2 separate regions of the Homo sapiens genome follow, and region 2 is linked to region 1. The links are contacts of gene promoters, found by promoter capture Hi-C in human tissues and cell types (Jung and others, 2019). All regions are on one chromosome and are shown on one strand. Each heading gives the region's core, a stretch centred on a gene start or on the middle of the fragment in contact. The rest is flanking DNA. Distances are from core to core; before and after follow the strand shown. Region 1 overlaps TMPRSS9 (transmembrane serine protease 9). Region 2 holds the start of OAZ1 (ornithine decarboxylase antizyme 1).

Evidence for each region. The method cuts DNA at HindIII sites, captures the fragments that hold promoters and counts their contacts. A contact is called where the count stands out against the background at its distance.
Region 2: the fragment with the promoter of OAZ1 here is called in contact with a fragment that was not itself captured in region 1 in 1 of the 25 tissues and cell types used here (lymphoblastoid cells).

The regions. Positions count from the first base shown.
Region 1 is chr19:2,410,636-2,415,384 of GRCh38, forward strand. It overlaps TMPRSS9 (transmembrane serine protease 9), which reads left to right. Exons shown (of 19, transcript NM_001395513.1): 11 at 3,065-3,383. Among named protein-coding and RNA genes, the nearest start is that of TIMM13, 15 kb to the right of the region's middle. The HindIII fragment of the contact is 6,937 bases long and covers 1-4,749 here.
Region 2 is chr19:2,266,547-2,270,893 of GRCh38, forward strand. It overlaps OAZ1 (ornithine decarboxylase antizyme 1), which reads left to right and starts at 2,940. Exons shown (of 5, transcript NM_004152.3): 1 at 2,940-3,198. The coding sequence starts at 3,053. LOC105372240 (a long non-coding RNA gene) reads right to left here and starts at 2,707. Exons shown (of 2, transcript XR_936242.3): 1 at 2,556-2,707; 2 at 1,947-2,326. RefSeq lists enhancers at 1-143, 2,639-3,253 and silencers at 2,507-2,996, 3,962-4,021, 4,232-4,347. The HindIII fragment of the contact is 6,913 bases long and covers 1-4,192 here.

The DNA.
Region 1 (4,749 bases), core at 1,564-4,063:
GAAGCTCTAACCTGACTTCAATCCCTCCTCTGCCCTCCATGGCTCCCTGCTCCCTTCCAGTGGGCCCCAGGTGCGTGCCACAGAGCCTGGGGTCCCTGAGTAATCTCCCTGGCTATGATGGGGTCCCTGTGTAAATCCCCCCCAGCTGCCCTCCAAACCGGGACTTGTGTGGGGACACAGACACTGTTCCCAGCACTGGGCCTGATACAACGTGGCACCCAAGAAACACCTCTTGTATGAATGATGCCAGCACATACCCTGGGCATCAGATTCTCTCCGTCTGTATGGGAAGGGTTGGTCTATGGGAACCCCGTGGACTTTTGCCCCTGGGTGGTCAGCTGGGCCATGAGTGAGCTGCAGGCTCAACTCAAGAAGGTTCCAGGGCTGGGCACGGTGGCTCACGCCTGTAATCCCAGCACTATGCGAGGCCAAGGCGGGTGGATCACTTGAGGTCAGGAGTTTGAGACCAGCCTGAGCAACATGGCGAAACCTTGTCTCTACTAAAAATACAAAAATTAGCCTGGCGTGGTGGCAGGTGCCTGTAATCCCAGCTCCTCGGGTGGCTGAGGCAGGAGAATCATCTGAACCTGGGAGCTGGAGGTTGCAGTGAGCTGAGATCACGCCATTGCACTCCAGCCTGGGCGACAAAGCAAGACTCTGTCTCAAAAAAAAAAAAAAAAAAAAAAAAAAAAAAAAAAGAGAAAATCAGGGGTCATCCAAAGCTGCTTCTGCTGTATACCTGGAACCTTCTTTTTCTTCTTCTTCTTTTTTTTTTTTTTTGAGATGGAGTCTCACTCTGTCACCCAGGCTGGAGTGCAGTGGTGTGATCTCAGCTCACTGCAACCTCCGCCTCCCAGGTTCAAGCGAGTCTCCTGCCTCAGCCTCCAGAGTAGCTGTGATTATAGGCATGCGCCACCACACCTAGCTAATTTTTGTATTTTTAATTAAGACACTGTCTCGCTCTGTCACCCAGGCTGGAGTGCAGTGGCACCATCTTGGCTCACCTCCCAGTTTCAAGTGGTTCTCATGCCTCAGCCTCCCGAGTAGCTGGAATAACAGGTGCCCACCACCACGCCTGGATAATTTTTATACTTTTAGTAAAGACAGGGTTTCGCCATGTTGGCCAGGCTGGTCTCGAAATCCTGGCTTCAGGTGATCTGCCCACCTTGTCCTCCCAAAGTGCTAGGATTACAGGTGTGAGCCACCAGGCCCGGCCGACAATTATAATTTTTGTTTTCAAGGTGTCTCATTCTTTCTTCTTTCAGCCACCTGGTCTTGTTTGCAGTGTCCTGTTCTTGTTTCGTGGATACCATTTCTTTCTTTTTCTCTGAGGATCGTAATTTAATCCGTTATGTTTCTTCTATATTCTATATTTGTGGTTAACTGTATTTCAGGCAAACGTAAGTTATTCTGTTGTAACTGAGTGTCTTTATTTCATGGAGATTGGAATCCCTCAACTGGTGCTTAAGAATGAAAAGCTGGGTGCAGTGGCTCACACCTGTAATCCCAGTACTTTGGGAGGCTGAGGCAGCCAGGTCGCTTGAGGCCAGGAGTTTGAGACCAGTTAGGGCAACATAGCAAAACTTTTGTCTCTACAAAAACAAAAACAAAAACAAAAATTAGCTGGGTTTGGTGGTGCATGCCTGTAGTCCCAGCTACTTGAGAGGCTGAGGTGGGAGGATTATTTGAGCCCAGGAGGTGGAGGTTGCAGTAAGCCAAGATCACGCCACTGTACTCTAGCCTGAGTGACAGAGTGAGACGCCGTCTCAAACAAAATTGAAAATTTAAAAATGTCGCTCAATTCTTGCCGTGATCTTATATTTGCTATTCACTTTCTCTTGGCGAGGGACATTAACAGTTTGTGTTCTTGGATTCTATGTACCCTTTCAAGGGACCAAAGACCTCCTGGTCTCATTTATCCTTTGTGGTTGCCCAAATCCCTTTTCTACCCCAACCAACCCAGGTCCTCTTGAGAAAGCTTTCTCTTGTGTCTTGAGCTTCTGCACATGGGCTGGGCTGCCACTTCCTCTGTCAGCCTCTCGTGAGTCTTCATGGTTTCTGGTCCACAACCAGGGATCTCTCCTGCCTAATTTTTTTAGCATGGCTGTGGATTCCTGTCTTTCTTGTGCATACCTTTGCTCTTGTTTCTAAGGCCTGGTGGGTGAGGAAAAGATGGGAGAGACTGCTACATGTGCTTAGATTGCCATATTGAAACCAGAATCTGGAGAAAATGCTAGGAACTAATGAGAGGGCTCATGTTTAAGAATGTAAGAGTCGGCCAGGCACGGTGGCTCACGCCTGTCATCCCAGCACTTTGGGAGGCTGAGGTGGGCAGATCACTTAAGGTCAGGAGTTCAAGACCAGCCTGGCCAACATGGTGAAACCCCGTCTCTACTAAAAATACAAGAAATTAGCCGGGCGTGGTGATGCGTGCCTATAATCACAGCTACTTGGGAGGCTGAGGCAGGAGAATTGCTTGAACCTGGGAGGAGGAGGTTGCAGTGAGCCGAGATCACGCCATTGCACTCCAGCCTGGGCAACAGAGCAAAACTCTATCTCAAAAACAAAAACAAACAAAAAAACGATACACAGAACGTAAGGGTCAGGGTGAACTGGATATGGGAAGGTAAAAAATGGTGAGGCCGGACGAGTGACAGCAGATGAGCACTTTGGGAGCAATGCTGCAGCTACCAGTGAGATATATGGAGGCACCCGCGTGGCAGCCATACTGCCAGCCTAAGCAAGTGGTGACATTATCAAAGATCTACTGAGTTAAGAAGAGGAGGGGATGTTATTTATTTGGGTCACGTTTTGGCCTGCCAGAGGTAGGACTGAAAGACATCTTAGAGATCCTATAGTCCAACTGTCTTGGGTTTTGTTTTTTTTCCTCCACAGAAGAGGAAACAGGTTCTGAGATGTCAATGATCAGCCCCAGGTGCTCTGTGAGCTTGTGTGGAGAGAGGTCCTGGCTGTCCCAGCTCAGAGCTCCTTCTTGGGCCTCGTAGCACTGGTGTCTGGACTGGCTGCTGCCGACCCATCCTGAGGGTGTGTGTTGGTTTCCTAGGGTGACTCAGGAGGACCCCTGGTCTGCGAGGAGCCCTCTGGCCGGTTCTTTCTGGCTGGCATCGTGAGCTGGGGAATCGGGTGTGCGGAAGCCCGGCGTCCAGGGGTCTATGCCCGAGTCACCAGGCTACGTGACTGGATCCTGGAGGCCACCACCAAAGCCAGCATGCCTCTGGCCCCCACCATGGCTCCTGCCCCTGCCGCCCCCAGCACAGCCTGGCCCACCAGTCCTGAGAGCCCTGTGGTCAGCACCCCCACCAAATCGATGCAGGCCCTCAGTACCGTGCCTCTTGACTGGGTCACCGTTCCTAAGCTACAAGGTATTTTCGGGGCAGAAAGGTAGAAGATGATGTACGTGCCTATCTTGATTTAGGGAGAACGGATATCGTCATAGTATCTTCATAATTTTGGATCTTCCTGTTCAAGGAAAGGTCACATGTGTATCCGTTTATTCCCATCTTACGTTGCGTGTACCCTCATGGTATCTTTCTGTCCACAGGTCTTGCCCATGTCTTGTTAACTATGGCGATCTATCAATGGGATACTTTTTTTTTTTTTTGAGACGCAGTCTTGCTCCGTCGCCCAGGCTGGAGTGCAGTGGCGTGATCTCGGCTCACTGCAACCTCCGCCTCCCAGGTTCAAGTGATTCTCCTGCCTCAGCCTCCTGAACAGCCGGGATTACAGGCACAGGCCACCACACCCGGCTAATTTTTGTATTTTTAGTAGAGACGGGGTTTCCCCATGTTGGTCAGGCTGGCCTCGAACTCCTGACTTCATCATCTGCCCACCTCAGCCTCCCAAAATGCTGGGATGACAGGTGTGAGCCACCATGCCCGGTCTGGAATACTTTCTATTGTATTTTCAAATAGTTTGTACCCAGACAACTTGTAGGACTGGCAGGGTGCGGTGGCTCGTGCCTGTCATCGCACACTTTGGGAGGCAGAGGTGGGCAGATCGCTTGAGGTCAGGAGTTCAAGACCAGCCTGGCCAACATGGCAAAACCCCATCTATACTAAAAATTAGCTGGGCATGGTGGAGGGCACCTGTAATCCCAGCTACTTGGGAGGCTGAGGCAGGAGAATCGCTTGAACCCAGGAAGCGGAGGTTGCAGTGAGCTGATACGGTGACATGGTGCCACTGCACTCCAGCCCGGGCAACAAGAGCACAACTCCATCTCGAAAAAGAAAAAAGAAAACTTGTAGGACTATATCTCTGTTTCCAAAAACTGTTAGTTGCATTCCTATTTTTTTTTTTTTTTTTTTCTGAGACGGAGTTTCACTCTTGTCGCCCAGGCTGGAGTGCAGTGGTGTGATCTCGGCTCACTGCAACCTCCACCTCCCGGTTCAAGTGATTCTCCTGCCTCAGCCTCCTGAATAGCTGGGATTACAGGTGCCCATCACCATGCTTGGCTAATTTTTGTATTTTTAGTAGAGTTGGGGTTTCGCCATGTTGGCCAGGCTGGTCTCGAACTCCTGACCTCAGGTGATCTGCCCGCCTTGGCCTCCCAAAGTGCTGGGATAACAGGCATGAGCCACCGCGCCCGGCCATGCTTCATTTCAGTTCACCTACACCCCACACTCTGTTCCGAAACCCCCTAACAATCGTACCCTTCCTTTTCTCAGCCGCCCCATGGGTCTCCTGGAGTGCAGCCCCGTCTTTGCAAGGAGGCCATAAACCTGGCTTTGT
Region 2 (4,347 bases), core at 1,690-4,189, 140 kb before region 1:
AGGCCCCTCACCAGTCACAGACTCCCCAGCTCCCAGCAAAGCACCTCCCACCCTGGGGAGTTTCTGGGGAACCCGGCCAGGTGGGCCAGCAGGGCGCAGTTGCTGATCCTAGCGCTCATCCCACGTGGCCTGGCCAGTGTGGGGGTGGCCCTTCTAGAAGCCTCACAGCATTGGCAGGCGGCCATCAGAGGCAGGCAGGAGGAGGAAGTGAGAGCTGCTGCAGTCAGGATGGAGGGATGGGGCTCCCTGGTCGTGGCTGTTCTGGAAATCGCACCGGTGACCTGTTCATTTCGAGCAGGCTCTTGCCTCTGTTCCCAGAGGAGGTCCTCAACTTAGGGGCGTCATTCTGCCCCCAAGGGACATTGGATGATGTTTGGGACATTTCTGGTTGTCATGACTTGGAGTGCTCCTGGCATGGAGTGGGTGGAGGCCAGGGACGCTGCTCAGTACCCTGCAGTGCCCAGGACGCTGCAGTCCAGCCTGGCAACAGAGCGAGACTCCGTCTCAAAAAACAAAAAAACAAAAAAAAAAGCAATCCACACCCTGAGTGGGGAAGGAGAGAGGAGAAGCATCCCAGGAGCTGGGGCCCTCCTGGTTCATACCATTTGCCCAGGATGCCCCACCCCAGAGAACAATCCAAGCCCAATGTCCACGGGTCCGAGGGAGGAGACCCTGAGTTAATTATTTGAAACAGAGTCTGTTCTCTGCTCACACCAGACACCAGAATAAACTCCTTTTTTTTGAGATGGAGTCTCGCTCTGTAGCCCAGGCTGGAGTGTAGTGGTGCAATCTTGGCTCACTGCAACCTCCACCTCCCGGGTGCCAGTTCAAGCAATTCTCCTGCCTCAGCCCCCTGAGTAGCTGGGATTACAGGCACGCGCCACCATGCCCAGCTAATTTTTGTATTTTTAGTAGAGACGGGGTTTCACCATGTTGGCCAGACTGGTCTTGCACTCCTGACCTCGTGATCCACCCGCCTCGGCCTCCCAAAGTGCTGGGATTACAGGCGTGAGCCACCGTGCCCAGCCTCAGGATAAACTCCTAATGGGGCAAACGGTATAAACCAGGAGGCCCCCAGCTCCTGGGATGCTTCTCCTCTCTCCTTCCCCACTCAGGGTGTGGATTGCTTTTTTTTTGTTTTTTTTGTGACAGAGTCTCGCTCTGTCACCAGGCTGGAGTGCAGCGGCGCCATCTCAGCTCACTGCAACCTCTGCCTCAAGGTGTGGATTTCAACGTGCGCAGTCTCCTGGGACCTCAGCAGGGCAGAGGATCATGGGATGCAGAGTCTCTTGGGGGGGTCCGTGGAATCCCCTAACTCGGGAGTCTCACCCAGGGTGATTCTGCCCCCGCCAAGGGACACTGGGTGATGTCTGCGGATACTTGTGGTTGTCACAACTGGGGGTGCTCAAGGCATGGAGTGGGTGGAGGCCAGGGACGCTGCTCAGCGCCCTGCAGTGCCCAGGGCGGCCCCAAATGTCAACCGCAGGAGTTAATTTCTGCCTCAACACCTGAATAGCGAATGCTCGTAGCAGAGATGCAACAACAGCCTTCTGGTGCAGTACGAAATCTCGAAAGACAGGCAGGCGCGGTGGCTCACGCCTGTTAATCCCCAAACTTTGGGAGGTCGAGGCAGGCGGATCACCTGAGGTCAGGAGTTCCAGACCAGCCTTGCCAACATGGTGAAACCCCATCTCTACTAAAAATACAAAAATTAGCCGGGCGTGGTGGCGGGCACCTGTAATCCCAGCTCCTCAGGAGGCTGAAGCAGGAGAATCGCTTGAACCTGGGAGGCGGAGGTTGCAGCGAGCCGAGATTGCGCCACTGCACTCCAGCCTGGGTGACAGCCAGGCCCGGTCGCAAACAAAACAAAATTAAAACCATGAAAGGAATCAGGATTTGCCAGGAGTAGCATTTTTGCTTGGTAAGAACAAAATTTTGTTTATACATGAAATAAAAAATATTTTATTAAACCTCACTGCAAAGTGGCAACTTTTTGCTAAATTCATAATTTAGTCTACACACAAGCTATGTACCCGTATGTGACTGCCAAGAGTTATATCTTTGCTTATTAAAAGCAAAGTGCAGTTCATACCTGAGATTTTTTTTCTGGATTTAACCAGGAGGGGAAATATTTTTGCTAGGTAAGTCCACATTTTACCTCACAGGCGAAACAGTTTACCGAACTTGACCACCAAAGAAATCGTTTTTTCCTTGGGAGATCCACATTTTAGTTCATACATGAGATGTGTTTCTGAATTTTAACTGCCAGGAGTAGTGTTTTTCCTTAGGGTAAGTTTCAGTTTCCACAGGAAAAATCTGAATTTATCTGCAAGGAGTAAAATTTTTGCTTAAGTCCAAATTGTACACGAAATATTTTACTAAATTTGAATATCTTTAACATTGGAAGTTCTTTTTTTTTAAACACTGGAAGCATTTTAAGAACTGCAAGACCAAATTTAAAAAAATAAAACCAGTAATATCATCGATGATTACCAGGTGTTACTGGAAATAATTCTGGCGCGGTTGGACAACCCCCCAAGCACCCGGGGGCCTACCCAGGGGAGGGGTCCCGCTGCGTGAAGGGACCCTAGGGAGGGCGACGTGGACCACGACAGACAAACGGGCACTCGAAGACCCCCGAAAATCGGCCCCAGCGAGCCGCCCCCGCCCCCAAGGCACGATTGTGGGGGCGGGGACGGCTCGGGGCGCGCGCAGCGCGTACCCGGCGCCACGGCAGCCCCGCCCCCAGAAGGACGCGCGCAGGAGGGGGCGTGGCCCGAGGCTCACCAACCAATCTCCAGAGAGCCTCTTCCTTTCCCTTTCCCTTTCACCAATCAGGCGCTGGGAGGGGCGGGCGCGACTTTTTTTCCCGGCGGCCCCGCGGCTCTGCCCCTCGTGCGGTCGCGTTCCCGGCGGCGCGGGGGGCGTGGCCTGGGCGCAGCATCTATAAAGGCGGGCGGCGGCAGAGGCGCCATTTTGCGAACGGCGAGCAGCGGCGGCGGCGCGGAGAGACGCAGCGGAGGTTTTCCTGGTTTCGGACCCCAGCGGCCGGATGGTGAAATCCTCCCTGCAGCGGATCCTCAATAGCCACTGCTTCGCCAGAGAGAAGGAAGGGGATAAACCCAGCGCCACCATCCACGCCAGCCGCACCATGCCGCTCCTAAGCCTGCACAGCCGCGGCGGCAGCAGCAGTGAGAGGTAAGTGCCCCGCCCCCGTCCGAAGCTTCCAGAAGCGCCGGCCGCGCAGGCCTGCGGGGGGCCGTCCTCGGGGCGCCAGATAGGTCCCCGGCGCGCGAGATCCGCCCCTTTGTCAAGGCCAGAATCGCGCCGGGGACGAGGTAGGCGCAGGGCGGGCCTGGAGGTCCCCCCCGGCCTTAGCAGTGCTCTCGGGGGAGTCGGGTTTGGGGGGCAAGGGTGCGGAGTTGGATTTGGGGGGCACCGTCCGGGGCGCCTGATTTGCGGGAGGGGCATGGGTCGGAGGTCGGATTTGGGCGCAGGACGGGGAGTCGGGGGAGGCGTGTGTCTTTTGCGGGGTTCGCGGGATGGGACTCGGCTTCGGAGGAGGGGAGAGGCTTCTGGTCGAGGGTTGGATTTGCGGGGCGCAGACTGGGAATTCGGTTTGGAGGAAGGGTGTGCGGTCGGGTCGGATTTGGGAGGCGCAGGATGGGGCAATCTGGTTGGGGGCGGGGTCGGCCTTGGGGGGCTGGTCCGCGGACAGGCAGGGCCCGCGGGGCTGGTGAATCTGCACTTTTCGGTCCCGGCCGTCGAGCGTGCGCTGCGGGAGCGGGGAGCGCTTTGCGGTGGACGAGCTCCCGCGGGTCCCTGTTGCCTCGATGTGGCCCCTGCACGCGACGGACCTCGTGGGCCCCGTTTTTCGCCCCTGAGCGAGTCGGTCTGGATGGCCCGGGACGCGCCGGGCGAGGCCGCGCACGTAGACGGCACCCAGGGCTTCTCCGCGGGGGCCGCCGGGGAGCTGGGGGTGGCGCACTCCGACAGCCCGGCAGCGCCCTGGGAAGACCCCCGCCGCTTCCCGGGAAGACGCGTCCCGCTTCCGGGGGCGCGGGTGCCAGCTGCGGTTGTGGGGGAGCCCGCGGGGTCTCGGTCGAGCTTTCCCGACTGCGTCCCCCGAGGTGGGCGTCGCTCAGCCCCGGATCGGGAGGTTGGGCCGCGGTGCTGGCGGTGCCGCGGTTTGGGGGCCGTGCAAAATGGAGGCAACTTTGGGGCCTGTTTACCCTGCGCAGCAAATGGCTGCTGGCGCTGCCGGCTGCGCGATTGTGAAAATCTCCCCCGGGGCGCGAGGCCGCGTCTGCCTGGATGACGCAACCGGGAGGGCCCGGGCCTGGAGCG